Linked DNA regions of Homo sapiens: regions 1, 3 and 4 are each linked to region 2. Evidence: promoter capture Hi-C in human tissues and cell types (Jung and others, 2019). All regions are on one chromosome and are shown on one strand. The core of a region is centred on a gene start or on the middle of the fragment in contact, and the rest is flanking DNA. Distances in the headings are between cores, read along the strand shown.

Region 1 (7,076 bases), core at 3,011-5,510, 280 kb before region 2:
TCTCCTGCCTCACCCTCTCAAGCAGCTGGGATTACAGGCATGCACCACCATGCCTGGCTAATTTTTTATTTTTAGTAGAGACGGGGTTTCTCCATGTTGGTCAGGCTAGTCTGGAACTCCTGACCTCAGGTGATCCGCCTGCCTCAGCCTCCCAAAGTGCTGGGATTACAGGCGTGAGCCACCGCGCCTGGCCATTCAGTCTTCTTGAATGTCAGATAAATACAGTGCTTTCCCTGGTATCTATACCATCATGTCCTTTAAAAGCTGGATGTACAACTCTAGCAGGATAAAAGTATAAGGGATCACCAATTAGTGTGGTTCAGAATAATATAAACTAAATAGCTGTAAGTGCTTACCTTGGGGGTGCCCAATCATGTCGTGTGCAGTCAAGGAGTGTACCTACATATGTCTTGTTCCTCCACGTTACATTTACCACCAACATCCCTGGAAAATAAGAGCACATAGATATAGACAAGACACACCCCATTTGCCACTGAGAATAGTATTCTTTTGATCAGCACTCTGACTTCTATAAGAGGGTTTAGGAGGTACTCTGGGTACCAATGGGACAAATAGGATTGGGCCAGAATAGTTCCATAGGAATTGCCTACAATGCTACTGAGGTCCCTTAGGATGGGTAACAGTTGTAAAGACTTCATGGTTTTGTCAAGACACATTTTATTTTTATTTTTGGAGATGGGGTTTTGCTCTGTTGCCCAGGCTGGAGTACAGCCTCAAGCGATCGTCCCACCTCAGTCTCCCAAGTAGCTGGGATCACAAGAGCATGTCACCACACCTGGATAATTAAAAAAATTTTTTTTTGGCCGGGAGTGGTGGCTCACGCCTGTAATCCCAGTACTTTGGGAGGCTAAGGCAGGCAGATCACTTGCAGCCAGGAGCTCAAGATCAGCCTGGCCAACATGGGGAAAACCTGTCTCTACTAAAATTACAAAAATTAGCTGGGCATAGTGGTGCATGCCTGTAATCCCAGCTACTCAGGAGAGTGAGGCAGGAGAATCACTTGAACCCAGGAGGTGGAGTTTGCAGTGAGCCAAGATTGCGCCACTGCACTCCAGCATGGGTGACAGAGTGAGACTCCGTCTCAAAAAAAAATAAAAAATAAAAAAATAAAGCTTTTGACTAGGTAATGTAGCCTTACTCCAAAATTCAAAAGGTAGTCCCCACACCTCAACCAAAAAAAATCTCCAACAAACCCTAATATAAAATGAAGTGTCCCTTCCATAACTGTTCTTCAGTCTTCCAGTTCCCCTACTTGGAAACATCCAAAAGTCTTCCACAGATATTTTATATGTATATATGCAAATATGTTCATATATTCTTCCTTAAATGATAGCAATATACACACAATGTTCTGCACACTGCTTTTTTCATGTACCCAAATATTTTGGATCATTCCATATGTGTAGACAGAGAACTACTTCATTCTTTTCAATGGCAGCATTTGAACGGACATTTAGGTTGTTTCAATCTTCTGCTATTACAAATAAACTGCAATGAATAATCTTGTACAAATGCTTCATTTTACCTACACAAATATGTCTGTAAGATGAATTCCTGTAAGTAAAACTGTTAATCACAGTGCACTTGTATTTGGAGTTCTCACAAATACGGCCAAACCACCTCCAAATTGCCTCAAAGAGGACATACTCATTCATATACCCATTTATAGTAGCCCATGAATACCTCTTGCCCTTTTCCTTTGGCAACATGATGTTCTCATTTTGTTCTTTGCCAATCTGATAAAAGAAAAATTATGTTTTATATAGGGTTTTTTTTTGGCATTTTAATTCCTTTTTTTTTTTTTTTTTTTTTTTTTGAGACGGAGTTTCGCTCTTGTTGCCCAGGCTGGAGTGCAATGGTGTGATCTCCGCTCACTGCAACCTCCGCCTCCTGGGTTCAAGCAATTCTCCGCCTCAGCCTCCCAAGTAGCTAGGATTATAGGCATGCACCACCACCCCCAGCTAATTTTGTATTTTTAGTAGAGACAGAGTTTCTCCATGTTGGTCAGGCTGGTCTCAATCTCCCGACCTCATGTGATCCGCCTGCCTCAACCTCCCAAAGTGCTGGGATTACAGGCATGAGCCACCGCACCTGGCTGGCATTTTAATTCTTTTAGAGACAATGTCTTGTTATGTTGCCCAGATTGGGCTCAAACTCGGGCTCAAGCTATCCTCTTGTCAAGACCATTTTGCCCAGGCTGGTCTTGAACTCCTGAGATCAAGCAATCCATCTGCCTTGGCTTTCCAAAGTGCTGGGATTATAGGTGTGAGCCACCACACTTGGCTCCATTCAGTCTTTTACCATTAAATATAATATTCAGTTTTAGCGCCATGTCTGGGATATTAGAGACAAAAAGAAAACCCAGGGAACTCATCACCATGTTGTTTCTAAGGTCTTGTGACCCATGGCTGGTCTGCCTTCTTTCTTCCACGTTTCACAGTCTTGTTGTATTTGTTTTATAAATAATTTCCAGAGTTTTTAGTTGTATTTAGGGGAGGAATAGGGAAAAATCTGTCTACTCCATCTTCTCTGAAGTGGAAGTCCTGGTTTTTATTGGTTATCTTTCTTAACATTAGATTTCTATTATTAACATTTTGGTTTGCAGCCTCATATTGAGTGGAATGTCTTTGTTATTACTTTTTCCCCTTTCTCTGTCTCATCACTTTGCAATTTCTTTCTTCTGGCCCCCTAGGGACTCAGTACAACAGGTCTTCAAATGGCCTATGCCACAGTGAAATTTAGGATATCACACTTCTATTCTAATAATGAATCAGGAGGCAGCTTGACACAGTCCTTCCCAACTCCTTAAAGCTTCCCTCCTCCACTCAACAATTAACTTATTTTAAGCCTCCTTTCATAAGGCTGGTTGGGGGTTAGCATCTCACTCTCCTGGCCTCACATTCTTAGTCTATGAGCTTTTTTAGTATCTATTTACTCCTCTGAAATCACCTCTCACGACTACTCTTTGTTCCCAGATCTGGAGGTCAGCCAGTCCACAGATTCAGCCCCACTTAGTGACTTGCATCTGTGTTTCTTTTTCTTTTTCTTTTTTTTTTGAGACAGAGTTTCACTCTTGTTGCCCAGGCTGAAGTGCAATGGCCTGATCTCAGCTCATTGCAACCTCCACCTCCTGGGTTCAAGTGATTCTCCTGCCTCAGCCTCCTGAGTAGCTGGGATTACGGCAGGTGCCACCATGCCCGGGCTAATTTTGTATTTTTTTTAAGCAGAGACAGGGTTTCACCATGTTGGTCAGGCCGGTCTCGAACTCCCGACCTCAGGTGATCTGCCCACCTCAGACTCCCAAAGTGTTGGGATTACAGGTGTTAGCCACCACACCCAGCTCCAAGGCATATTTTCTATGGAATATATCAAGACAATAAATCTGGGGGATCTGGAATTAGCTTTTGTTTGTCTACGGCCACCCACTAATAAAATACTTTTTGATTTGGCACTTCTAGGACATATCTCTAGTAACTCACTTATATTCATTTATTCTTCGACATACAATGTTGTCTAAAAATCACTGGACATGGAGTTAGAAAACCTCAGTGCAAATCCTGGCTTTGTTATAGTGTAACCTTGAACAAGTCACTTGGCTTCTACAAATCTCAGGGTTTTTTTGTTTGTTTTGTTTTTTTGAGACAGAGTCTCGCTCTGTCGCCCAGGCTGAAGTGCAGTGGCACGAATCTCGGCTCACTATAAGCTCCGTCTCCCGGGTTCACGCCATTCTCCTGCCTCAGCCCCCCGAGTAGCTGGGACTAGAGGCGCACATCACCACACCCGGCTAATTTTTGTTGTATTTTTTAGTAGAGACAGGGTTTACCATGTTAGCCAGGATGGTCTTGATCTCCTGATCTCATGATCCGCCCGCCTCGGCCTCCCCAAAGTGCTGGGATTACAGGCATGAGCCACCGCGCCTGGCCCAAATCTTAGATTTTTAAAAATATAGGATTAAGCCGGGTGCGGTGGCTCATGCCTGTAATCCCAGCACTTTGGGATGCCAAGGCGAGTGATCACTTGAGGTCAGGGGTCCAAGACCAGCCAGCCTGGCCAAGATGGTGAAACCCCATCTCTACTAAAAATACAAAAATTAGCTGGGCGTGGTGGTGGGCGCCTGTAGTCCCAGCTACTCAGGAGGCTGTGGCAAGAGAACTGCTTGAACCCAGGAGGTGTTCAAGGAGGTGTTGCAGTGAGCTGAGATTGTGCTACTGCACTCCAGCCTCGGCGACAGAGCAAGGCTTCATCTCAAAAAATAAATAAATACAATAAAGTAAAAAAGAAAAATAAAACTATTATGTGCTAGATGTTTTCATATTATCTTATTGAATATTTACAGCCTTAAATCACTTTTATTTTTATTTAATTATTTTTATTTTGGACAGAGTCTCGCTCTGTTGTCCAAGCTAGAGTGCAGTAGTGCAATCTTGGCTCACTGCAACCTCCGCCTCCCAGGTTCAAGCAATTCTTGTGCCTCAGCCTCCCAAGTAGCTGGGATTACAGGCGTGTGCCACCATGCATGGCTGATTTTTGTGTTTTTAGTAAAGACAGGGTTATACCATGTTGGCCAGGCTGGTTTTGAACTCCTGGCCCCAAGCGATCCACCCAACTTGGTCTCCCAAAGTGCTGAGATTACAGTAGTCACTAGGCCAATCACTTTTATTTTTATTTGTGTGTGTGTGTTTTTTTTTTTTTTTGAGACGAAGTCTTGCTCTGTTGCCCAGGGTGGAGTGCAGTGGCGCAATCCCTACTCACTGCAACCTCCGCCTCCTGGGTTCAAGCGATTCTCCTGCCTCAGCCTCCTGAGTAGCTGGCATTTGTTTATTTATTTTTTAATTTAATTTTTAATTTTAATTTTTATTTTTGAGATGGAGTTTTGCTCTTGTTGCCTAGACTGGAGTGCAATGGCGTGATCTTGGGTCATCGCAACCTCCGCCTCCCAGGTTCAAGCAATTCTCCTGCCTCAGCCTCCCGAGTAGCTGGGATTACAGGCATGTACCACCACGCCCAGCTAATTTTATATTTTTAGTAGATATGGGGTTTCTCCATGTTGAGGCTGGTCTCAAACTCCTGACCTCAGGTGATCTGCCTGCCTCGGCCTTCCAAAGTGCTGGGATTACAGGCATGCGCCACCGGGCCCGGCCCATTTGTTTACTTTTTATAATTTTTTCTGTTTGTTTAAAAATAGAGACAGAGTCTCACTATGTTACCCAGGCTGGTTTCAACTCCTGGTCTCAAGTGATCCTCCTGCCTTGGTTTCCTAAAGAGCTGGGATTACAGGCATGAGCCACGGCACCTGGTCTTAAATCACTTTTTGAGGAAGGCAGGCCATAAGTGGGTGCCAAAAATCCTGTCATATAAGGATTGTTAAGGCTACTTTGCAAAGGAGGAAATGATACACCAGAAAGGATAAATCATTTACTCAAGGGTTCACTATTAGTGGTCAGATCTTTCAGACTCTAAGGCCTGACACAGCTATCTCTAATGGATTCTGATTGTTTTCACACAATTTTCTTAGAATATCCTGTTACCTTCACCTTAGATAAAAGACACATACACATACAGGATTGCAGGGGGTCATCCAGAGGGGAAAAGGATAGGAATCCTATCCCTTTGCAGTGCCCTGGCATCTTAAGGGAAATGGCATCTCTCCTAAAGAAGTAATTAGGCTAAATTCTCTCTAGCTATTAGCAAAGTGATTTCAAATGGATGTCTCCCCCAAAAGGTGGCCTGCTCTGATTACTGCATAATCAATTTAATAGGAACAGAGTCCATTTATAGAGAAGGTAAGACTTAGAGATAGGCATCTCATTTATAAGGGCAGATGAGCACAGCTGTACACAGAGAGCAGGCACACAACTAGAAGATGAATCTCATTACTATTCTTGAAACAGCTGGGTGGGAACACATGTTTATAAATCAGGCTTCTTCCTTTGGTATAATCTGCAAACTTTAGCAATAATGAATGAGCTGAAGAGAAGACAGGTCAAACAAGGTGCTGGAAATGGGAGAAGGGAAGAGAAAAAATTATGATATGGAAAGACAAAATGGAGGCTTGTTTAAATGTCAAAGGAAACACACATTGATGAGGTTTAATAGTCTTCCTGCAAGGTTCCGAGTTGAGACAGCTGGAGAATAGGACGACAGGAAAGAAAAGCAGCAAATAACACTTAACAGACCAAGTTTCTCTATTAGGGGCTAGCTTTAGAGAAGCAAGTAGGCTGAAGAGAAAGAAAAACTGGTCTTCATCTTGGAAAACTTACTATTTTTCATAAGTGTTCACAAAATAAGGAAAGGCTCAGCATGTTTGAGGATAATACTGCTAAAAAACAGCAGTAATAAATAGTGCTCCGTGTTTCTCTAGAATCTTACTTTCAGATTTACCAAGTCTTATGGACATAATCTAAGTACCCATTATTAAGTTTTAGAGTACTCACTATTCTCCCTTCTTCAAGGTGATAAATATTGGAGCAGAGTAAAGGGAAAATGATGACATGTATGAGGCACTAGTCAGGTTCCCCTAGTTATTATTATTATTATTTTTGAGACAGAGACTCACTGTGTCACCCAGGCTGGAGTGCAGTGGTGCAATCTCGGCTCACTCCAGCCTCTGCCTCCCAGGCTCAAGCAATACTCCTGCCTCAGCCTCCCAAGCAGCTGGGATTACAGGTGTGCACCACCACACCTCGTTAATTTTTGTATTATTAGTAGAGATACTGTTTCACCATGTTGGTCAGGCTGGTCTCGAAGTCCTGCCTCAGGTGATCCACCTGCCTCGGGCTCCCAAAGTGCTGGGATTACAGGCATGAGCCACCACGACTGGCCAGGTTCCCACAGTTCTTAGGAGTGAAATGCTGAGACAAACTCAATCCCAAAGCAGCACTGCTTTGTTTCAGATAATAATTCAAAACCTCAAAACATTTGTGTAGTCAAGGCTGATCCAAGTATAATAGTAGAAAGAGAGAGAGAGATTTTTTTCTAGGCCCCTCATTTTTACTATTTCCATTAGTACATACTTTCTCTCAGGGATCTGGTACCTTCATGCTCAGCTCCTTCAT
Region 2 (7,625 bases), core at 3,754-6,253:
GTTTGAGACCAGCCTGGGCAACATAGGGAGACCTTGTCTCTAGAAGAAAAATTAAAATTAGCCAGGCATGGAGGCATGTTCCTGTAGTCCTAGCTACTTGGGAGGCTGAGGTGGAAGGATCCTTTGAGTCTCAGAGGTGAAGGCTGCAGAGCCATGATTGCACCACTACATTCCAGCCTGAGCAACAGAATGAGACTCTGTCTCAAACAAGCAAAAACGGTGGGGCATGATGGCTCCCAGCACTTTGGGAGGCTGAGGCGGGTGGATCACCTGAGGTCAGGAGTTAGAGACCAGCTTGGCCAACATGGTGAAACCGTCTCTACTAAAAATACACACACACATACACACACCCCCCAAAAACAGGCATCTTCTAATTACTATGGATTAGAAAAGACAATGGTTTTTCAGGACTTACACATTTTAATCATCTTGATCCCCAAACTTACCAGTCCCCACCAAAAGATTAACTGCTATCAAAGACTTGCAAAACTGTAAGGAATCCCAAGGGATCATTTAACCCTGGAGGGTTTTTTTGTTTTTTCAGACAGAGTCTCATTTAGTCTCCCAGGCTGGAGTGCAGTGGTGCGATCTCAGCTCACTGCAAACTCCATCTCCCAGGTTCAAGCGATTCTCCTACCTCAGCCTCCTGAGTAGCTGGGATTACAGGCGTGCACAACCACACCCGGCTAATTTTTGTTTTGTTTTGTTTTGTTTTTGCTTTTTTTTAGTAGAGACGGGGTTTCACTATGTTGGCCAGGCTGGTCTCGAAGTCCTGACCTCAAGTGATTTGCCCGCCTCAGCCTTCCAAAGTGCTGGAATTACAGGCTGAGCCGCTGCACCTGGCTTTTTTTTTTTTTTTTTTTTTTTTGAGACAGAGTCTCACTCTGTCACCCAGGCTGGAGTGCAGTGGTGCTATCTTGGCTCACTGCAACCTCTGGCTCCTAGGTTCAAGAAATTCTCCTGCCTCAGCCTCCTGAGTAGCTGGGATTGCAGGCGTGCACCACTGCGCCCGGCTAATTTTTTGAATTTTTAGTAGAGACAAGGTTTTGCCATGTTGGGCAGGCTGGTCTTGAACTCCTGACCTCAAGTGATCAACCCACCTCAGCCTCCCAAAGTGCTGGGATTACAGGTTGAGCCACTGCACCTGGCCAACCCTGGAGTATTTTTCAAACAACCAGGGAAGAGAGTTTCAGAACCATTTGAATAAATGTCATTTTAACTACTTAACAAGGTATAATAAAGAACAACATTCATCCAAATATGTTATATACCAAATCTTATCAAAATAATATGAACTCATCCAGATTGTGGACCAAAGTTTATTTTGTTAACTCTGTGGATAGCTATTTATGTCTTATAAATGTATCACTAATTAGAAAGTTAAGGCCGGGTGCAGTGGCTCACACCTGTAATCCCAGCACTTTGGGAGGCTGAGGCGGGCAGACCACGAGGTCAGGAGACCGAGACCATCCTGGCCAACCTGGTGGAATCCCATCTCCACTAAAAATACAAAAATTAGCTGGGCATGGTGTCACGCGCCTGTAGTCCAAGCTACTGGGGAGGCTGAGGCAGGAGAATTGCTTGAACCTGGGAGGTGGAGGTTGCAGTGAGCCGAGATCCTGCCACTGCACTCCAGCCTGGGCGACAGAGTGAGACTCCGTCTCAAAAAAGAAAAAAAAAAAAGTTAATAGCTCTGTGCTATTTCAAAAATTCAGTCCACTCATATAAAATTGTTCAAGTTAGTACATTACTGTAGTACATACACCTGGGTAATTCTCAATTAAATGCCAGGCAAGGCACAGCAAATGCTTTCATCATGGCATAATAGCCTGTTGTGGAATACTAGTGAATACCTAACAAATGCTTCAAATAGTATCTTAGCGTAATACATGCCGACGGGCACTGACCTCCTTCCCAGGCGGAATATAATTTTTTTTTTTTTTTGAGACGGAGTCTCGCTCTGTCGCCCAGGCTGGAGTGCAGTGGTGAGATATTGGCTCACTGCAACCTCTGCCTCCTGGGTTCAAGCGATTCTCCTGCCTCAGCCTCCCGAGTAGCTGGGATTACAGGTGCCCGTCACCATACCTGGCTAATTTTTTTTTGTATTTTTAGTAGAGACGGGGTTTCACCATGTTGGCCAGGCTGGTCTCGAACTCCTGACCTCAGGTGGTCCACCTGCCTTGGCCTCCTAAAGTGCTAGGATTACAGGCGTGAGCCACCACGCCTGGCCTGAGAACGCATTTTCTTGATACTGTGTAATCCAAACAAAATACAACTGGATTCTAGACTGAGAAGACTACATCTATCATTCTTACCCTATTTCAAATTGTTAATTTATCAAAAATAGCCTCAATCTTTCTTTTTTCCTTTTTTTTTTTGAGACGAGGTCTCACTCTGTCACCCAGGATGGAGTGCAGTGGTGCGGTATCAGCTCACTGCAACCTCTGCCCCGCGGTTCAAGGGATTCTCCTGCCTCAGCCTTCCGAGTAACTGAGATGACCTGCACGCTCCACCACACCCGACTAAGTTTTGTATTTTTAGTAGAGTGGGGGTTTCGCCATGTTGGCCAGGCTGGTCTGAAATTCCTGACCTCAAATGATCCATCTGCCTCGGCCTCCCAAAGTGCTTAGATTACACACATGAACCACTGCGCCTGGCCACCTCAATCTTTTTTTTTTAATACTGTATTTAATATAATACACATATTTAATATATTTAATATAATATTTGATATATTTAATATTTAATATATTTAATATAATATTTGATATATTTAATATTTAATATATTTGATATTTAATATATTACACATATTTACAATAAATATGTGAAAATTGGGCCAGGCGTGGTGGCTCATGCCTGTAATCCCAGCACTTTGGGAGGCTGAGGCGGTTGGATCATCTGAGGTCAGGAGTTCGAGACCACCCTGGTCAACATGGTGAAACCCCATCTCTAGTAAGAATACAAAAATTAGCCAGGCATGGTGGTGCGCGCCTGTAATCCCAGCTGCTCGGGCTGAGGAAAGAGAATCGCTTGAACGTGGGAGGCGGAGGTTGCAGCGAGCTGAGATCGCACCACTGCACTCCAGCCTGGGCAACAGAATCTGTCTCAAAAAAAAAAAAAAAAAAAAGTGAAAATTTTGAACTTATATTCGTAAAAAACACTTTTCTGTTTTATATATTGCAAAGTTTCATTATTTCATTTGATAGCATTCCACTGCTTTAAAAAATGTTTGAAAACTACTAAATACTTAATCTGACTGCGTTCAAGCAAGGGTAAAGCCAAACCATAAGATTTCGCTGTTTTGTTTTGTTGTCTATTCTAGTGTTAAAAAAAATCCTTTATCTTGTTGTTTACTTTTTTTATTTCTGTAGAGACAGGGTCTCACTATGTTGCCCAGGGTGGTCTCCAACTCCCAGTCTCAAGCAATCCTCCCACCTCTACCTCCCAAAGTGCTGGGAATAAGGGCTTGAGCCATCTCCTAGGGCCTCAAAAAAATCCATTAAAATAACCTACTTGAACTGTCTCCTTGCCAAAAGTCTATTTTCTCCGAAACTCAGAAACTCATCTTACTTCCTACAAAAGCCCTAGAACAGCAATTTAGGTTTCAACATCAGTGACCAAGGAATCAAATGAAGGAACACTTTCAGTTCTTCGATCAAGTCCCATTTTTGTAGTTTTCTCCCCTGCCTGAACACTTTGGACCGCCACCTCTGTCTATTCCTTAGTTCTCGGGTGAAAGTTATCCTTTCCAATAAACCTTCCGAGTTTTTCAAATCTTAATGAGAATCCTTTATTTTGTGCTCCAACAAGCCCCTTCATTTCCCCAACCTCAGCACTCATCAACGAAGGGGAACCCAACTGTCTTGTCTTTGTTACCCCAGCACCTGGCGTGTAACAGCAGCGCAACAAATGTTCTTCAATCAGTTGAAAGTAGATATTAAGTCATGTACACCATCTCCATTTCATAGGAGTCATAAAGCATGATAAGCTCTACTAATGATTAATCTTATAAATGAAGAAACCAGGGTACAGAGAGAAAAATTAAGTTGTCCTGGGTTCTAAAACAGGTAAACGACAACAGAATATAGAACCTGAGACTCCAGAGTCAGAAGCTATTTGTACTCTACCACGCTGCTTCCACTTAAATTCTAGGTCCTATTGACACAGCTGACCCTGTTGGCTCTACTGACACAACTCAGATTGGGCCGACTAAAATGTTCAGAGTATATCTGGGTGCGGTGGCTCATGCCTGTAATCCCAGCACTTTGGGAGGTCGAGGCGGGCGGATCACTTGAGATCAGGAGCTGGAGACTAGCCTGGCCAACATGGTGAAACACTGACTCTACTAAAAATTTTTAAAAATTAGCCGGGTGTGGTGGTGCGTGCCTGTAATCCCAGCTACTTGGGAGGCTCAGGCAGGTGAATCACCTGAACCCGGAAGGCGGAGGTTGCAGTGAGCCAAGATCGCGCCACCGCACGCCAGCCTGGGCGACAGAGACTCCGTCTCAATAATAACAACAATAATAATAAATAAATAAAAGAGTAAGGGGTTCAAAGTTAGGAAATACAGTTTGACCTGCCCCTTCTCTCTAGAAAGGAAACTGGCTCCTGGGACAGCCTTGCATTTCTAATTATTACAGATTGGGCGTCTTCCCAGGAAAAAAGCCCGACCGGCAGACTGTGGAGCCGGACACCCTATTCCAGAAACTAAACTACAAAGGTGGAGGCCAAAATTCGACGCCTACAGACTACAGACTGCAGCCCCTTTATCACATTTCTCTCTTAACTTTTCAGTCCTCCCCGCTTCCCGGTTCGCTCAGGCAGTGCACATCCCAGAGCTCCTTCCCCGCTTGGACCCGAACTGTTCTCACTGAATGATCTCCTCGCTGACATCCAGGCCGAAAGTCTTCCGCAACTGCTGGGTGCACCAGTGCACCAGCGGCTCCCCGGACACCGCCCCAGCCACCGCCATCTTCCCCAGCCGGAACCAGCTGAGCTGCAAAAGCCCCACGTCCTGCACCGGACTAGTTCCCTTCGCAACACCAACCTCTCTCACGCGGGTTCCGCCAGCTTGCACCGCCCCGCAAGGTCGCACCGCCTCCAGTGCAGATCCCGCCCATCTGTGCGCCTCCTGCTTCTTCCTGCTTTGTTGTCTACTTCCTTGTGCCCTCCGGAGTCGAGCTCTGTCAGTGCATGATTCTTGCCAATCGCTAAACGTAGGACTCGAGGAAGGCCATTGGCAATTCTGCTAAGAAGACAGTGCAAGTGCCTATAAAAACGACAGTTTAGGGGGAAAACAAACCAATACCCGGAAAGCTGAGAGGCCAGCTTTTTAATCGTCATGGTTTTATGTAAAATAAAACAGCACGTGGAAGGTATTGTAAGCGCTGTAAGTTTTTGCTCTGGTGGTGGTTTTAATTTTTTAATTAATTAATTAATTTATTTATTTATTTTGAGACGGAGTCTCGCACTGTCGCCCAGGCTTGAGTGCAGTGGCATGATCTCGGCTCACTGCAAGCTCCGCCTCCCGGGTTCATGCCATTCTCCTGCCTCAGCCTCCCAAGTAGCTGGGACTACAGGCACCCGCCACCACGCCCGGCTAATTTTTTTTGTATTTTTAGTAGCGACGCGGTTTCACGTGTTAACCGGGATGGAGTGTTTATTTTTAATACCCCCTGTAGTCGACTACTAGATTCACACCGCTAAAACTTCTATTTTATTTTTTGAGCCATGTATTTTCCAGGAGAGCCAAGACAACTCAGCAAGCTCGAGGGTAAAAAACAGTAAAACAGGAGTTGGAATTTGGCTTTGAGGACTTTCCACATGAGTTCTCAACCAAAAATGACAGTATTTAAGGGCTGTCTGCAATTCCCTACCCCGCTAAGACAATGGGCTGGGGAAAATTTAGCCAAACTTTTCTGGAGATCATAATGTCTTCCCATTCATTTCTGGCTTTTTGTTGCATTTGCAGGTTAAAAGTTCTTCATTTCTACTAGCCTGTTTAGACTAAGTGGTCACATTAAATTGGCAGCTGTTTTACCTTTTTGCTAGTGTTTTCATTGGCATAAATATTATAATTAAAATCATGAGTGTATTGGCCGGGCGCAGTGTCTCATGCCTGTAATCCCAGCGCTTTGGGAGGCCGAGGCGGGAGGATCACCCGAGCGCACACGGAGACACACACACAAACACACACACACACACACACACACACACTGGGCGTGGTGGCTCATGCCTGTAATGCCAGCACTTTGGGAATCAGAGGCAAGAGGATCACTTGAGCCCAGGAGTTCCGGACCAGTCTGGGCAGCATAAGGAGAATCCTCATCTCTACAAAAATGAAAAAAATTAGCCTGGCATGGTGGCACATGCCTGTAGTCTCAGCTACTTGAAAGGCTGAGGTGGGAGGATCACTTGGGCCTGGAAGGTCAAGCTTGAAGTGAGCCCTGATTGCACTACTGCACTCCAGCCTGGGCGACAGAGCAAGGCCTTTTTACAAAAACAAAACAAAACCTCATAAGTGTATTGATTTACATTCCATTTAGATTGTCGTAGATATCATTAATTTGGAAAGCAGATGATTTTCCAGGGTTTTTTTTTTTAAGAAAAAGTCAAAATACTCTGTGAATGTTTATTAATTGTGGGTACAAGTTTTGTTTCTTTGTAAAACTCCACTACATTTAATAATAATTGTAAGGTATCAAAGTCATTTACCTGTTTATTTATTCAGTCCCTGTGTTAGGGTTCTCCAGAGACAGAACCAATAGGATAGATAACAGATAGATATAGATACAGATCTATGAGGAGATTTATTAGGGAATTGGCTCAGGAAATTATGGAGACTGAAAAGACCCATGACAGGCCATCTGCAAGCAGGAGACCCTGGAATGCTGGTAGCTGGCTCAGTCCAAGTTGTGAAATCTTCAAGTCTCAAGGTGGAGGGCCTGGAGTTCTGATGTCTGGGAGCAGAAGTCTGAGAAGAGTGTCTCAGCTCCAGAAGGAAGAAATATTTTTTCTCACCTTTTTTGTTCTGGGTCCTTGGTTAATTGGATGGTGCCCGCTCACATTGAGAGCAGATCTGCCCCACTCAGTCCACTGACTCACATGCCAGTCTCCTTTGGAAATACCCTCAAAGGCACCCAGAAGCAATGCTTTACAAGTTATCTAGGTATTTCTTTTTCTTTTTCTTTTTTTTTTCTTTTTCTTTTTTTGAGATGGAGTTTCCTCTTGTTGCCCAGGCTGGAGTGCAATAGTGCAATCTTGGCTCACCACAACCTCCGCCTCCCGGGTTCAAGCGATTTTCCTGCCTTAGCTTCCCGAGTAGCTGGGATTACAGGCATGTGCCACCATGCGCGGCTAATTTTGTATTTGTAGTAGAGATGGGGTTTCTCCATGTTGGTCAGGCTGGTCTCAAACTCCCGACTTTAGGTGATCCTCCCGCCTCGGCCTCCCAAAGTGCTGGGATTACAAGCCCTCTAGGTATTTCTTAATCTGGTCAAGTTGACACCTAAAATTAACCATAACAGTCTCCATAACTAAAACATTAAGTGCTTGAAGGCAGAGACTATGACTTAAGTTTTTTCATATAATATAATTTAGTATGTCATACATGTTATGATAAG
Region 3 (7,712 bases), core at 5,031-7,530, 300 kb after region 2:
CTAATTTTTGTGTGTATTTTTTGTAGAGACGGGGGTCTCATTATGTTGCTGAGGCTGGTCTCGAACTTCTGAGCTCAAGTGATCCTCCCGCCTTTGCCTCTCAAAGTGGTTGGTTTACAGGTGTGAGCCACCATGCCCAGCTACTTTCCTTCACTTTAAATGTCAAATATTGAAATGTTACCTATTTTTCAAGGCTTGATTCAGATTCCGCTCCTATAAAGCCTGATAACCACATTCTTTCAAGCTGAAAGTTATTTCTTCCTCTTGAGCTTCCATGACACTGTTTCCATTCTTATTATATTTTCTCTGCAATGTCCGATTGGAGAAACTGGATATGGTCTTATAATAATCCAAGAAAACAGTTTTCTCAAGAGGAAACCAGTAGTGAAAATTTCTGTCAGAAACCTGGGAGTTGCTGTACTATTTGCTTAAACGTAAGAGAAGTCAGTGCTTAAATTAGGCCTGGCAAAATCATCTTTATTTAGAATAGTCATGTTTTAATAGAATATCTTATCTCTGATGATTCTTTAGATTTGATTAGAACTATCCGGGACCCAGAAAAGCCCAATACTTTAGAAGAACTGGAAGTGGTCTCGGAAAGTTGTGTGGAAGTTCAGGAGATAAATGAAGAAGAATATCTGGTTATTATCAGGTTCACGCCAACAGTACCTCATTGCTCTTTGGCGACTCTTATTGGTAAGTTTTTCTGTACATACATGTATATTTATATAAATTCTAAGTTATTCTTGCTGATATTGACCCATAATAACAATTTGCATCATTGTTGAAAAACCATACAGTGTATGTATTACACTTTATGGTTTACAGAGTATGTTCGTGTATTCATCTTCTGTAGTCCTCACAATTAGCTTGTTGAGTTAAAATATTATTATCTTCATTTTGCAGATGAGGAACCTGAAGCTCAGAGAGTTTAAGTGACTTGCACAGAATCAGGTAGCCAGGAAATGGTGAAACTAAGGCTCATACCCAGGTCTCCTGACTCCACTTCTCCTTTAGTTATGTCAGGCTGCCCCTCCCAGGTATATATGCCCACAATTAATGGAGAGTGCATGTGGGCCAGTGCTTTTCCTCAGTTCTGGAGGTTGGAGTGGGTGGTGTCAGACTAGCATTGCTTCCATCACCATCTCCTTTCAGTGACTCTTCTGGTTTCTACATAGTATGGGTAGAAGTCCTGGTAGGAGGTTGGATTCCCAGTATTTTGGATTTGTTAGCAGGTACAATAAATGTATTTGAACATATGCTTTGTTATAAAGGGATTTTATTTCAAACCAAATGTTCATGAGTAGGGGATTGATTAAATAATCATTGATGGTGAATATAAACAGTGGAATACTATGCAGCTATAAAAAAGAATGAAGAAGCTCTGCATGTACTGATATGGAGAGATCTCTATGACATACTGTTAAGAAATAAAAGCAAGTATCATTTTGCTATCATTTGTGTAAAAAAAGCAAAAACATACATTTGTATTTGATTGCATATGCCTGAATAATATTAATACATAAATGAATAGCTATAAGGGTGTTAGCGGGTAATAGTGGTGGTGGGAGCTGGGCAGATGGGGGAAAGGGTGGGAGGGAGACTTTATACCTTTTTATGTTTTTACATTTTCAAACCATGGGACTATCTCACCTATTAAAAAGCAACAAGTTTATAAAAAAGATTGAAAAGGTCGCTATTTCGTTATTATTTCCACTATTGTGATTTCTGTCTTTTCTCACTGGTTGACCTGGGTTCCCTCTGCTGGTGGTTTCCACCATATAGGCCACATCTTGAGGGACTGGAGGTCTGTGAATCCATAGGTATTATTGTGGTTATTAAAATCCCATTGGTGACCGGGCGTGGTGGCTCACACCTGTAATCCCAGCACTTTGGGAGGCCAAGGTGGGTAGATCACTTGAGGTCAGGAGTTTGAGACAAGCCTGACCAACATGGTGAAACCCCATCTCCACTAAAAAAAATACAAAATTAGGCCGGGCGCGGTGGCTTACGCCTGTAATCCCAGCACTTTAGGTGGCCGAGGCGGGCAGATCACGAGGTCAGGAGATGGAGACCATCCTGGGTAACATGGTGAAACCCTGTCTCTACTAAAACTATAAAAAATTAGCCAGGCATGGTGACGGGTGCCTGTAGTCCCAGCTACTCAGGAGGCTGAGGCAGGAGAATGGCGTGAACCCGGGAAGCGGAGTTTGCAGTGAGCCGAGATTGCACCACTGCACTCCAGCCTGGGCATCAGAGCGAGACTCTTATCTCCCAAAAAAAAAAAAAAAAAAAAAAGCAAAATTAGCAAGGCATGGTGGCACACACCTGTAATCCCAGCTACTTGAGAGGCTGAGGCAGGAGAATTACTTGAACCTGGGAGGCAGAGGTTGCAGTGAGCTGAGATCATGCCATTGCACACCAACCTGGGCAACAAGAGCAAAAACTTCATCTCAAAAAAAAAAAATTCCCATTGGCATGGCGGCTCACACCTGTAATCCCAGCACTTTGGGAGGCCAAGGCAGTGGATCACTTGAGGTCAGAAGTTCAAGACCAGCCTGGCCAACATGGTGAAACCCCATCTCTACTAAAAATACAAAAATTAGCTGGGCATGGTGGCACGCACCTGTAATCCCGGCTACTCGGGAGGCTGAGGCAGGAGAATCGCTTGAACATGGGAGGTGGAGGTTGCAGTGAGCTGAGATTGCGCCACTGCACTCCAGCCTAAGCAACAGAGTAAGACTCTGTCTCAAAAAAAAAAAAAAAAATCCCATTGCTAGAAAAAGCATTACTGAATGCTGAATGCATGGTTATTTTTGGTCATTGGACAATTTGTGAACGAACAGATACTGAAAGTACTGCTGTGGGTGTTGTGGAGGGGGTGTCTTAAAATATTTTGACATATAAGAAAGAGTTCTTAAATGGAGAGTTCAAGAACCTATAGCAAATTTATTTATTTATTTATTTTTTGAGCTGGAGTTTAACTCTTGTCACCCAGGCTGGAGCGCAATGGTGCAATCTTGGCTTACTGCAACCTCCGCCTGCCAGGTTCAAGCGATTCTCTTGCCTCAGCCTCCCAAGTAGCTGCAATTACAGGCGCCCGCCACCATGCCTGGCTAATTTTTTTTGTATTTTTAGTAGAGATGGGGTTTCACTATGTTGGCCAGGCTGGTCTCGAACTTCCAATATCAGGTGATCTGCCCACCTCGGCCTCCCAAAGTGCTGGGATTACAGGTGTGAGCCACCACTCCCAGCCAGCAAATTCATTTTTAAAATTAACATTTATTTAAATTATATGAGTAACATGTTTATTGGCAGTAATTTTGATACCCCACAAAAACATAAAGAAAAAAACCAGCTATTATGAAAGAATGTCACTGGGTGCAGTGGCTCACTCTTGTAATCCCAGCACTTTGGGAGGCCGAGGCGGGCAGATCATGAGGTCAGGAGTTTGAGACCAGCCTGGCCAACGTAGTGAAACCCTGTCTCTACCAAAAATGCAAAAAATTAGCTGGGCGTGGTGGCGGGCGCCTGTAATCCCAGCTACGTGGGAGGCTGAGGCAGGAGAATCGCTTGAACCCGGGAGGCGGAGGTTGCAGTGAGCGAAGGTCACGCCACTGCACTCCAGCCCAGGCTACAGTGCGAGACTCCGTCTCAAAAAAAAAAAAGAATATATGCTCTGGGCTAAAATTCCAGGTCTATTGGCTGTACCGTATTGTGGGCTTCGGCAAGTTACTTAACCTTTCCAAGACCCAGTTTCCTTATCTGTAAAACAGGAATAATAAGGATATCTATAGAGTCGTAAGAGTTAAGTAATAGCATGAAATACATGAATTATTTTTCTCATTAAATATTTCTTTTTTTAAATTTTTTTTGTTGTTGAGACAGGGTCTCACTCTGTCACCCAGGCTGGAATGCAATGACACGATCTCGGCTCACTGCAGGCAGCCTCCACCTCCCGGGCTCAAGTGATCCTCCCACCTCAGTCTCCTGAAAAGTTAGAACTTCAGGCAGGTGCCACTATGCCTGGCTAGTTTTGCCATGTTGCCCAGGCTGGTCTCAAATTCCTGGGCTCATGCCTCAGCCTCCCCAAGTGCTGGGATTACAGGCATGAGCCACCATACCTGGCCATCATTAAATATTCTTTAATTATATAGTTATAGGTTACATGCTAATCATATTGGTACATCAGAAGTTTTGTAACCATTTGGACTACTTCTAGCCTTTTGCAATTATAAATAATACTGTGATGAGCAACTTTATTTTATTTTATTTTATTTTATTTTATTTTATTTTATTTTTTGAGACAGAGTCTCACTTTATTGGCCAGGCTGGAGTGTAGTGGCCACTGGAGCTTCCACCTCCCAGGTTCAAGTGATTCTCCGCTTCAGCCTCCCGAGTAGCTAGGATTACAGGCATCCTCCACCAAGCCCAGCTAATTTTTGTATTTTTAGTAGAGACGGGGTTTCACCATGTTGGCCAGGCTGGTCTCGAACTTGTGACCTCAAGTGATCTGCCCTCTTTGGCCTACCAAAGTGCTGGGATTACAGGTGTGAGCCACCGCGCCTGACCGAACAACTTTATATATAAATATTTTTATTTATTTATTTTTTGAGACGGAGTTTCACTCTTGTTGCCCAGGCTGGAGTGCAATGGCATGATCTTGGTTCACCACAACCTCCACCTCCCAGGTTCAAGCGATTCTCCTGCCTCAGCCTCCCAAGCAGCTGGGATTACAGACATGCACCACCACACCTGGCTAATTTTGTATTTTTAATAGAGATGTGGTTTCTCTATGTTGGTCAGGCTGGTCTCTAACTCCCAACCTCAGGTGATCCGCCTGCCTTGGCCTCCCAAAGTGCTGGAATTAGAGGGGTGAGCCTCCGTGCCTGGCCTTATATAAATATTTTTATATATCTCATTATTGCATCAGGATAAATTCCTATACGTGGAATAATTGGGTTAGATTATGTAAGTATTTTGAAGCCTCATGGTATATATTGGTAAATCCCTATCTGGAAGTTTATACTGTTTGACGCAGGAGTTAAGGAACTAATTTTATAGAAGAAAATATTCGCCAGACGTGGTGGCCCACACCTGTAATTGTAACACTTTGGGAGGCCGAGGCGAGAGGATCACTGGAGCCTAGGAGTTTGAAACCAGCAATCTCTTAAAAAAGAAAAAAAACATGAAAAAGCTTGAATAAGTTCAAATTGCATCATGATTGCAGTTATAGAAAAATGTGTACGTGGACAAATATCAGGAGAGTGCATGAAATAAAAACTGTTCTGTAAGGGTGCTAACATTAGATTATAGTTGATATTTCAGATCTGTACACTTCCTGTAGAAAGTTTTGTCTTAGCCCTTTCGTTATGCATTTCAGCTAAGACCATTGGCTTTTTATTTTTTATTTTTATTTTATTTTATTTTATTTTTTTTTGAGACAGAGTCTTGCTCTGTTGCCCAGGTTGGAAAGCAGTGGTGCTGTCTTGGCTTACTGCAACCTCTGCCTCCTGGGTTCAAGCGATTCTCGTGCCTCGGCCTCCAAGTAGCTGGGATCATAGGCGCGTGCCACCATGCCCAACTAATTTTTTGTATTTTCAATAGAGACGGGGTTTCTCCATGTTACCCAGGCTAGTCTCAAACTCCTAGCCTCAAGTGATCCGCCCACCTCGGCCTCCCAAAGTGCTGGGATTACAAGTGTGAGCTGCCACACCCGGCCTATTGGTTTTTTAGAGAATTGTATAATAGTGTATCATAGTAGTTTTGTTCAGTCAACACAGCTGGAAAACTTGAGAGAAGCCTTCGTCTGTCTGATGTGTTAACAGATATTCCTCCAGAGCAGGTAGTCCTAGCCTGGAAAGGTGCCTGAGTAAGAGTATCACCTACTCAATGTTACCTTGGTAAGTGATTGACAAGGAAGACTCCAAGGGAACAAGAGGGTAAGGCAGGGAAACAAGTTGATAATCATTTGTGGTGACTTATTCCAGATAAGAATGGCTGAAGGCAGCTGTGGTCCAATGGGAACGGTCTTAGGGTTTGGAGGTCAGAAGGTGTAGGTTTGGGTTCTACCTCTGCCACTTGTTAGCTAAGTAATGTTAAATCACCTACCTTGGTTTCTTGGCTGTAAAATGAAAATTATAAAATAGTATAAAATAGTAATATTTTATACTATTATTTTTTACTATTTATAGTAATTATTTTTATACTATTATTGTACACTTATGTGTCAGGTACTGTTTTAAACACATTGCATAACAGGTTATTCCTCATAGCAACCCTATATATTGTGATATTATTATATATATTTTTAAGTTTTATTATTATTATTATTATTATTACTTTTAGAGATGGGGTCTTGCTACGTTGCCCAGGCTGGTCTTGAACTCCTGGGCTCAAGCAGTCCTCCCGCCTTGGCTTCCCAAAGTGCTGGGATTACAGGCATGAGCCACCTTGCCCAGCTGATACTATAATGCCTGTTTTGCAGATAAGGAAACTGAAGCTCAGAGAGGTTAAGTAACTTATGCAGGATCACAGCGAGTATGTAGTGAAGCTACTTTTGAAACCCAAAGTATCTCAGTTATGCTGTACTACCTCTCTTGAGGATAATGATGCTCAAAAAAGTGCTTTGCGAATTGTAAAACACCTACCAATAGTGACTAAAATACGTGAGGATATTCAGACAGTACACAGATAACAAATTAAGGAGACAATGGTGGGGCCAGGGGAAGAGGAACTCTCCCAGATATGCTTTAAGGCAGATCCTCTGAAGAGAGACCCTCTTAAGGAAATAATATATTTTCTTTAGAATTCTCTAATATTTATTATAGAACTACTGTGTTCAAGACTCTATAAGGTCGGGCGCGGTGGCTCATGCCTATAATACCAGCACTTTGGGAGGCCGAGGCGGGCAGATCACTTGAGGTCAGAAGTTCAAGACCAGCCTGGCCAACATGATGAAACCTTGTCTCTACTAAAAATACAAAAATTAGTGGGTGTGGTAGCGTGCTTCTGTAGTCCCAGCTACTCAGGAGGCCGAGACAGGAGAATCTCTTGAACCCAGGAGGTAGAGGTTGCAGTGAGCTGAGATCTCGCCACTGTACTCCAGCCTGGGCAATAGAGCAAGACTCTGTCTCAAAAAAATAAATAAGTAAATAAAGACCCTGTGGCAGGCACCACCTCATTATATCTCATCTAATCCTTTTCCCTGTTTTGGGATTTTTCAAAAAATTCTCTTAGAAAACCAAATGGTACTTAGAAAACCAAAACCAAGTTACTACCTCCCTAAAAGATAGGTAGTCTAACAATTATATCTTGCTGTATTGCTGTATGGTTTGAGGTTTTGTTGATGTGTCTTAGCATGGGATGATAAACTGAACTTCAGTGGAACTTGTTTTAAAGAAGTTACTGTATTTGTACCTTGCAGGCATAAAGGATTACAAATTTGAGAGATTTTATGTGGCCCTTTTAAAATGGCTTTGACTTGTTTTATTTTTTTGCGTGTCCTGGCCTGTTGTGGGGCATTTTAAAAAGTTAATTGAATTGGCCGGGTGGGGTGGCTCATGCCTGTAATCCTAGCACTTTGGAAGGCTAAGGCAGGCGGATCACTTGAGGTAAAGAGTTTGAGACCAGCCTGGCCAACATGGTGAAACCCCATCTGTACCAAAAATATATAAAAATTAACTGGGTGTGGTGGTGTGCGCCTGTAATCC
Region 4 (6,870 bases), core at 4,371-6,870, 440 kb before region 2:
ACCCCGTCTCTACTAAAAATACAAAAATTAGCCGGGCGTGGTGGCAGGCAGGTGTAGTCCCAGCTACTCGGGAATCGGAGGCAGGAGAATCGCTTGAACCCAGGAGGCAGGGGTTGCAGTGAGCCGAGATCGTGCCATTGTACTCTAGCCTGAGCAGCAGAGTGAGACTTTGTCTCAAAATAAATAAATAAATTAATTAATTAATTAAATTGTGGTGATGGTTATACATTTGGAATGTACTTAATGCCATGAATTATACACTTAAAAATAATTAAAACGATAAATGTCGTGTATATTTTTCCACAATTGTTTTTAAAAAGTTTGAAAGCCAAGGCCGGGCGCGATGGCTCACGCCTGTAATCCCAGCACTTTGGGAGGCAGAGGCGGGCAGATCACGAGGTCAGGAGATCGAGACCATCCTGGCTAACACGGTGAAACCCCGTCTCTACTAAAAATACAAAAAATTAGCTGGGCGTAGTGGCGGGCGCCTGTAGTCCCAGCTACTCGGGAGGCTGAGGCAGGAGAATGGCGTGAACCCGGGAGGCGGAGCTTGCAGTGAGCCGTGATTGCGCCACTGCACTCCAGCCTGGGCGACAGAGCGAGACTGTCTCAAAAAAAGAAAAAAAAAAAGTTTGAAAGCCAAAACAAAAAAAAACATATTAAGAGAAAATCCATTGGGACATTCTGGTGCCTTCCCTTGAAGCAGTCTGGGGTATTGCACACAGAATCAGGGTAAGGGATTTGGCTTCCCCTGTGTGTAAGTGCGCTAGGCCCATTGTAAGCAGAGAGCAGTGGAAAGAGAGAACACAGGCTTTGGAAACAGACCTGGGTTCATAATCCCAGCTCTTTCATTTTCTCTCTATGTGGCTGTATTTGTTTCTTATTTCTATGGCTGCTATAACAAATTATCATACATTTAGTGGCTTAAAACAACAAAAATTTATCATCTTGTCATTCTGGAAGCCAGGAGTCTGAAATGTGTCCTACTGTACTAAAATCAAAAGCTGTTTTTCTTCTGGAGACTCCAGGAGATAATCCATTTCCCTGCCCTTTCCAGCTTCTAGAGAGCTCCTGCCTTCCTTGGTTTAGTCTGTGGCCCTTGCCTCCAACCTCAAAGCCAGCAGTAACATCTTCACGTCTCTCTTTCTCTCTCTCTCAACTCTACTTCCTTTGTCATATCTTCTCTGACTCCTGTTTCCTTCTTTCCCCTGTGATTACATTGGGCCACTCATATAATCCAGAATAACATCTTCATCTCAAAAAACTTAACCATGATCGGGTGTGGTGGCTAACGCCTGTAATCCCAGCACTTTGGGAGGCCGAGGTGGGCGGATCACTTGAGGTAGGAGTACAAGACCAGCCTGACCAACATGGAGAAACCCTGTCTCTACTAAAAATACAAAATTAGCCAGGTGTGGTGGCGCATGCCTGTAATCCCAGCTACTAGGGAGGCTGAGGCAGGAGAATTGCTTGAACCCGGGAGGTGGAGATTGTAGTGAGCTGAGATCATGCCATTGCATTCTAGCCTGGGCAAAAAGAGTGAAACTCCGCCTCAAAAAAAAAAAACAAACAACAAAAAAAACTTAATCATATCTGCAAAGTCCCTTTTGCCAATGTAAGATAATATTCACAAATTCTAGGGATTTGAACATGGACATTTTGGGGAAGGGGGTCATTATTCTGCCTACCATAATGACCTTGAAAACTTTTCTCTTTTTTTTTTTTTTTTTTTTTTTGAGACAGAGTCTCGCTCTGTCGCCCAGCCTGGAGTGCAGTGGTGCGATCCTGGCTCACTGCAACCTCTGTCTCCTGGGTTCAAGCGATTCTCCTGCCTCAGCCTCCCGAGTAGCTGGGATTACAGATGCCTGCAACCACACCCAGCTAATTTTTGTATTTTTAGTAAAGATGGGGTTTCACCACCTTGGCCAGGCTGGTCTTGAACTCCTGACCTCATGATCCACCTGCCTCAGCTTCCCAAAGTGGTGGGATTACAGACGTGAGCCACCACACCCAGCTGAAAATTTTTCTTAACCTACTCATTTACTCATACACAATGACGCATGCCACTGATATTCAATATATGTCAAGACAACACTGGAGAAGAAAAATATCTCTCAAGATTTCTTTCCAGCCAGGCATGGTGGCACCCTCCTGTAATCCCAGCACTCTGGCAGGCTGAGGCTGGCAGATCTCTTGAGACCAGGAGTTCGAGACCAGCCTGGGCAACATGGCGAGACCCTAGTCTCTATAAAATATACAAAAATTTGCTAGGCGTGGTGGTAGTCATCTGTAGTTCCAACTACTTGGGAGGCTGAGATGGGAGGATCACTTGAGCAGGAAGGTCAAGGCGGCAGTGAGTTATGATTGTGCCACTGTACTCCAGCCTGGGTGGCAGAGTGACAACCTGTCTCAAAAAAAAAAAAAAGATTTCTAACAGGTTTATGGAGATATAATTCACATACCATACAATTTAAGCATTCAAAGCATTCGATTCAATGGTTTTCAGTATAGTCACGGGGTTGTGCAACTATCACCAATCAATTTTAGACTATTTTTATCTTTCTCCCATTTTGAGAAAACAGAGGCTTGAGACATTATGGAAACCTGCTTAGGGTAGCATCCACTGGAAAGGCATTGCAGTGGCTGTTACTAGCTGAGATTCCAGTCCAGGTTATACCTTTCATGAAGCTAGGCCAGTCACCTTGAGGCAGAAGAACAGGGTCTGGAGGCAGGGAACCTAAGGCTGTTTCACGCCGACTTCCTAGAATTAAATTAAAAGGAAAACCCGGCTGGGCACAGTGGCTCACACCTGTAATCCCATCACTTTGGGAGGCCGAGGCGGGCAGATCACAATGTCAAGAGATTGAGACCATCCAGGCCAACATGGTGAAACCCCGTCTCTACTAAATATACAAAAATTAGCTGGGCATGGTGGCATGCACCTGTAGTCCTAGCTACTTGGGAGGCTAAGGCAGGAGAATCGCTTGAATGGGGGAGGCAGAGGTTGCAGTGAGCCAAGATAGCGCCTCTGCACTCCAGCCTGGCAACAAATAGAGACTCCACCTCAAAAAAATAAGAAGAAGAAGAAGAAGAAAAAAGAAAACCCTGGCCGGGCATGGTGGCTCACGCCTGTAATCTCAGCACTTTGGGAGGCCGAGGTAGGCGGATCACGAAGTCAGGAGTTCGAGACCAGCCTGGCCAATATGGTGAAACCCCATCTCTACCAAATATACAAAAATTAAATGGGCATGGTGGCACGCACCTGTAGTCCCAGCTACTTGGGAAGCTGAGGCAGAAGAATCGCTTGAACCCAGGAGGCAGAAGTTGCAGTGAGCCGAGATCCTGCCACTGCACTCCGGCCTGGGCAACAGAGCACAGAGCCAGACGCTGTCTCCCAAAAAAAAAAAAAAAAAAAAAAAAAAAAAAGGAAAACTCTAACTTTCCACTCCTAAGTAAGGACAAGAACAAAAGGACCAAAGGCTACTCCCTTTGACGTTTCCCGCATGGCAGATGGGAGATTGGCAGATGGGAGATTGGCTGTCTGCAACAAATCATAGGAGTGTGGGTCCAGTCTTCGTTTGCAACTTTGTAACTTCACTCCAGCCTCTGAATGGTGGCTGAATGGTTGCTGTCTGCAACCAATCAGACTGATTATCGCTACCACTTCAGTTACATGAAGTAAGCGTAAAGTTCCCAATGGGAAACTTCTAGGGGGTATTTGAACCCAAGAAAATTCTGTATCTCGGGTCCCCTCCCACACTGTGGAGTGTACTTTCGTTTTTGTTTTTTGTTGTTGTTGTTTGTTTTGAGACAAGTTCTCGTTCTGTCGCTCAGGCTGGAGTGCAGCGGCACGATCCAGGCTCACTGTATCTTCTGCCTCCTGGATTCAAGTGATTCTCATGCCTCAGCCTCCCAAGCAGCTGGGATTACAGATGTCCACGACGACACCCGGCAATTTTTGTATTTTTAGTAGAGACAGGGTTTCACCATGTTGGTCAGGGTGGTCTGGAACTGCTGACCTCAAGTGATCCCCCCACCTCGGCCTCCCAAAGTGCTGGGATTACAGGCGTGAGCCACCGCGCCTAGCCGTACTTTCGTTTTCAAAAAATTCCTGCTTTTGTTCTTTTGTTGCTTCATTCTTTCTTTGCTTTGATGGGCATTTTGTCCAATTCTTTGTTCAAAACGCCAAGAACCTGGACAACTTTCAGTCATCACCCTCTACCGCTAACAGACTGGGAGCAGTGTGGTGTAGTAGCTAAGCCCCATGGAGTGATTAAGCGAGCAGGTAATCTGGGTTCAATGTTTGGTTTTGCTCTCCATATCAGCTATGTGACCTTCAGTAAAATCTCTGGAAGCCTTGCTTTTTTCTCATTTGAAAAATAAGGTCCGGGCTCATGCCTGTAATCCTAGGACTTCGGGAGGCCACGGTGGGTGGATCGTTTGACCTCCGGAGTTCGAGACAAGCCTGGGAAACATGGTGACATCCCGTCTATACGAAAAAAAAATTATATATATATATGTGTGTGTATATATATATATGTGTGTGTATATATATATGTGTGTGTATATATATGTGTGTGTATATATGTGTGTGTGTGTGTATATATATATATATATATATATATATATATATATATATATAAATTAGCTGGGTGTGCATCTGTAGTTCCAGCTACCTGGGGGGCTGAGGCGGGAGGATCACCAGAGCCCAGGAGGCGGAGGTTGCAGTGAGCCACGATCGCGCCACGGCAGAGGTTGCAGTGAGCAGAGATTGTGCCACTGCACTCCACTACAGCCTGGGCGACAGAGTGAGCCCTAAGAAGGAAAAAGGAAAGGAAAGGGCAATTTAATCCATGGTAGTTATCATTATCTGTAAAATGAGGTAGCCAGACTCACCTGTAAGATCCTTTCCAGCTATGTAATTCCAAGCTTCAATGAGATAATAAAGATGATTAAAAGTAAATTCTTTCAGCATCCTGTGCAAGAAGAGGGATACAATTTCCCTGAAGACAGAGACTCTACTCGCTTCCGCTGTACCCTCTGGCACGTGGCACAGGTCTCAGAGTTTCTCACTCATGGGCCTCAGGTGGGTGAGAGAGCCAAAGCGTAAAGTCCCTTACAAAGGCAGAGAAGGATGTAGAGTTGGGGGCGGGGGAGGGATTGGGCAGGCCTTGGGGTGGTCTGCCCAGAACTGGACAATGGTACTGTGAGTGTAAACAGGGGTGTGAGAGTCCAAAGGCAGATCTTCCCCAAGGCTAAGCCCAGCCTCTGTGTGCGGGCTAGAGGGGAGAGGGAGTGTGCTGGAAGGATGGTTCTGAAAATAAATCTTCGGAGTCGCGTAGGGTTTTCAGACCCGACACCACGCGCCGCCGGGTGGCTGCCGCAGCGGCGGCCTCCTCCCACCACGCCCAGCCGTCCACTGGATTTGGTATGCTCAGCCACCACCATAAACCTCCTTCCTCTAGCAGGCAATTGGTACAGCCCAAGCTCCTGGAGTAGAGACGCAAAGAAAGACACGCCCATTGTTACGCCCCTACCTCTGAGTGGCTGGAGAATTTAAAGATCCAGTCGGTGATTGGGTGATTTTCTGCCTCTAGCATTTGAAAAATTTCTAGTTTCGGAGCTTAGCCACAGGCCGGCTACGATCTGCTTGTTCATCTGAGTGTCGGCACAAGTGAGTGTCTGCCCGAACCCAGAGGTGGGGAGCAAAGAGCCTGATTTATCTAGGGGTTTCCGGCGGGAGGGTGCAAACAAATGGGTCAGCCTGAGGGAGCACGGCTTCTAGGGTCCCAGGGTCCCCCGCGATTTCCCTAGCCGAATATTTTCCACCTCGTCCCCACCTTGGTGGTGGGAAGCGCGAGGGCATGGGAATCACACTGACTTTGACTACTAGCCGCTGTGGCTTATGAAGGGCAAGTGAGTTTCCCTCTCTTAGCCTGTTTCCACGTCTGTACACGGGGAAGAGTGAGACCTGCCCGCTGCATATAAGCCAGTGAATGTACCTACAAGGCAGAAGTCGCTTATTACACGGCAGCCCTCTTTGCATCTCCCCACGGGCGATTCTCCTGCTTCCTGGGGAGAGTACTCTGAGGATTCATGTGCTCGCCCTGGGTCTCGGGGAAGGAGGATTCTTTCTGCGCAGGGACCCCTGTTCTAGTGAGGTCCTTGCAGGACACCTGAGGCTCCCTAATCCTCGGTGCCCATCCGCCGCTCTGGAAATTGTTGTGTAGCACGGTGTGTGTGTATATGTGTGTGTGTGTGTGTGTGTATATATATAGAAATTGTATATATATTGTGTGTATATATATATAGAAATTGGATATATAGAAATGGAAATTGTGTAGCAGGGTGCGTGTGTGTATATATATATATACATATATATACACACACACACACACATATATATAATGTATGCATATGTATGTATTTATATGTATGTATTTTTTTTTTAATTAGAGGGTGTCGCTATGTTGCCCAGGATGGTCTCGAGTTCCTGGGCTCAAGCGATCTTCCTTCTTCAGCCTCCCAAAGTGCTGGAATTACAAGCGCCCGCCACCACGCCCGGCTAATTTTTGTATTTTTAGTAGAGACGAGGTTTCACCATGTTGGCCAGGCTGGTCTCAGAACTCCTAACTTCAGGTGATCCGCCCACTTTAGCCTCCCAAAGTGCTGGGATTAAAGCGCGAGCCACTGCGCCCGGCCCAGGGCATATTCTAAGGGTGGATTTTCGGTTAGCCCAAAGCCCTTTCTCCGTCTTTGTGACCTCTTTGTGTTACCAGTGACAGTCCTCGTGATCTTGTGTAGCCTTGACCCTGCTCCCTGTCACGTCCTTTATAGCACCCATTACGTCCCCTATAGCACCCATTACGT

Evidence for each region. The method cuts DNA at HindIII sites, captures the fragments that hold promoters and counts their contacts. A contact is called where the count stands out against the background at its distance.
Region 1: a fragment that was not itself captured here is called in contact with the fragment with the promoter of TRIP4 in region 2 in 1 of the 25 tissues and cell types used here (H1 embryonic stem cells).
Region 3: a contact is called between a fragment that was not itself captured here and the fragment with the promoter of TRIP4 in region 2, in 1 of the 25 tissues and cell types used here (mesendoderm cells).
Region 4: a contact is called between the fragment with the promoter of PIF1 here and the fragment with the promoter of TRIP4 in region 2, in 1 of the 25 tissues and cell types used here (lymphoblastoid cells).

The regions. Positions count from the first base shown.
Region 1 is chr15:64,663,714-64,670,789 of GRCh38, reverse strand. ZNF609 (zinc finger protein 609) reads right to left here. Exons shown (of 10, transcript NM_015042.2): 4 at 357-444. Among named protein-coding and RNA genes, the nearest start is that of OAZ2, 36 kb to the left of the region's middle. RefSeq lists enhancers at 3,079-3,776, 3,777-4,476. The HindIII fragment of the contact is 4,553 bases long and covers 1,984-6,536 here.
Region 2 is chr15:64,385,214-64,392,838 of GRCh38, reverse strand. TRIP4 (thyroid hormone receptor interactor 4) reads right to left here and starts at 5,003. Exons shown (of 13, transcript NM_016213.5): 1 at 4,875-5,003. The coding sequence starts at 4,975. It also overlaps a transcript of PCLAF not described here. RefSeq lists enhancers at 4,287-4,787, 4,717-5,206, 4,788-5,288. The HindIII fragment of the contact is 11,205 bases long and covers 1,862-7,625 here.
Region 3 is chr15:64,081,671-64,089,382 of GRCh38, reverse strand. It overlaps CIAO2A (cytosolic iron-sulfur assembly component 2A), which reads left to right. Exons shown (of 5, transcript NM_032231.7): 2 at 532-696. Among named protein-coding and RNA genes, the nearest start is that of CIAO2A, 8.3 kb to the left of the region's middle. The HindIII fragment of the contact is 9,527 bases long and covers 1,517-7,712 here.
Region 4 is chr15:64,824,397-64,831,266 of GRCh38, reverse strand. It overlaps PIF1 (PIF1 5'-to-3' DNA helicase), which reads left to right and starts at 5,620. Exons shown (of 13, transcript NM_001286496.2): 1 at 5,620-5,698. RefSeq lists enhancers at 5,358-5,487, 6,677-6,870. The HindIII fragment of the contact is 20,575 bases long and covers 1-6,870 here.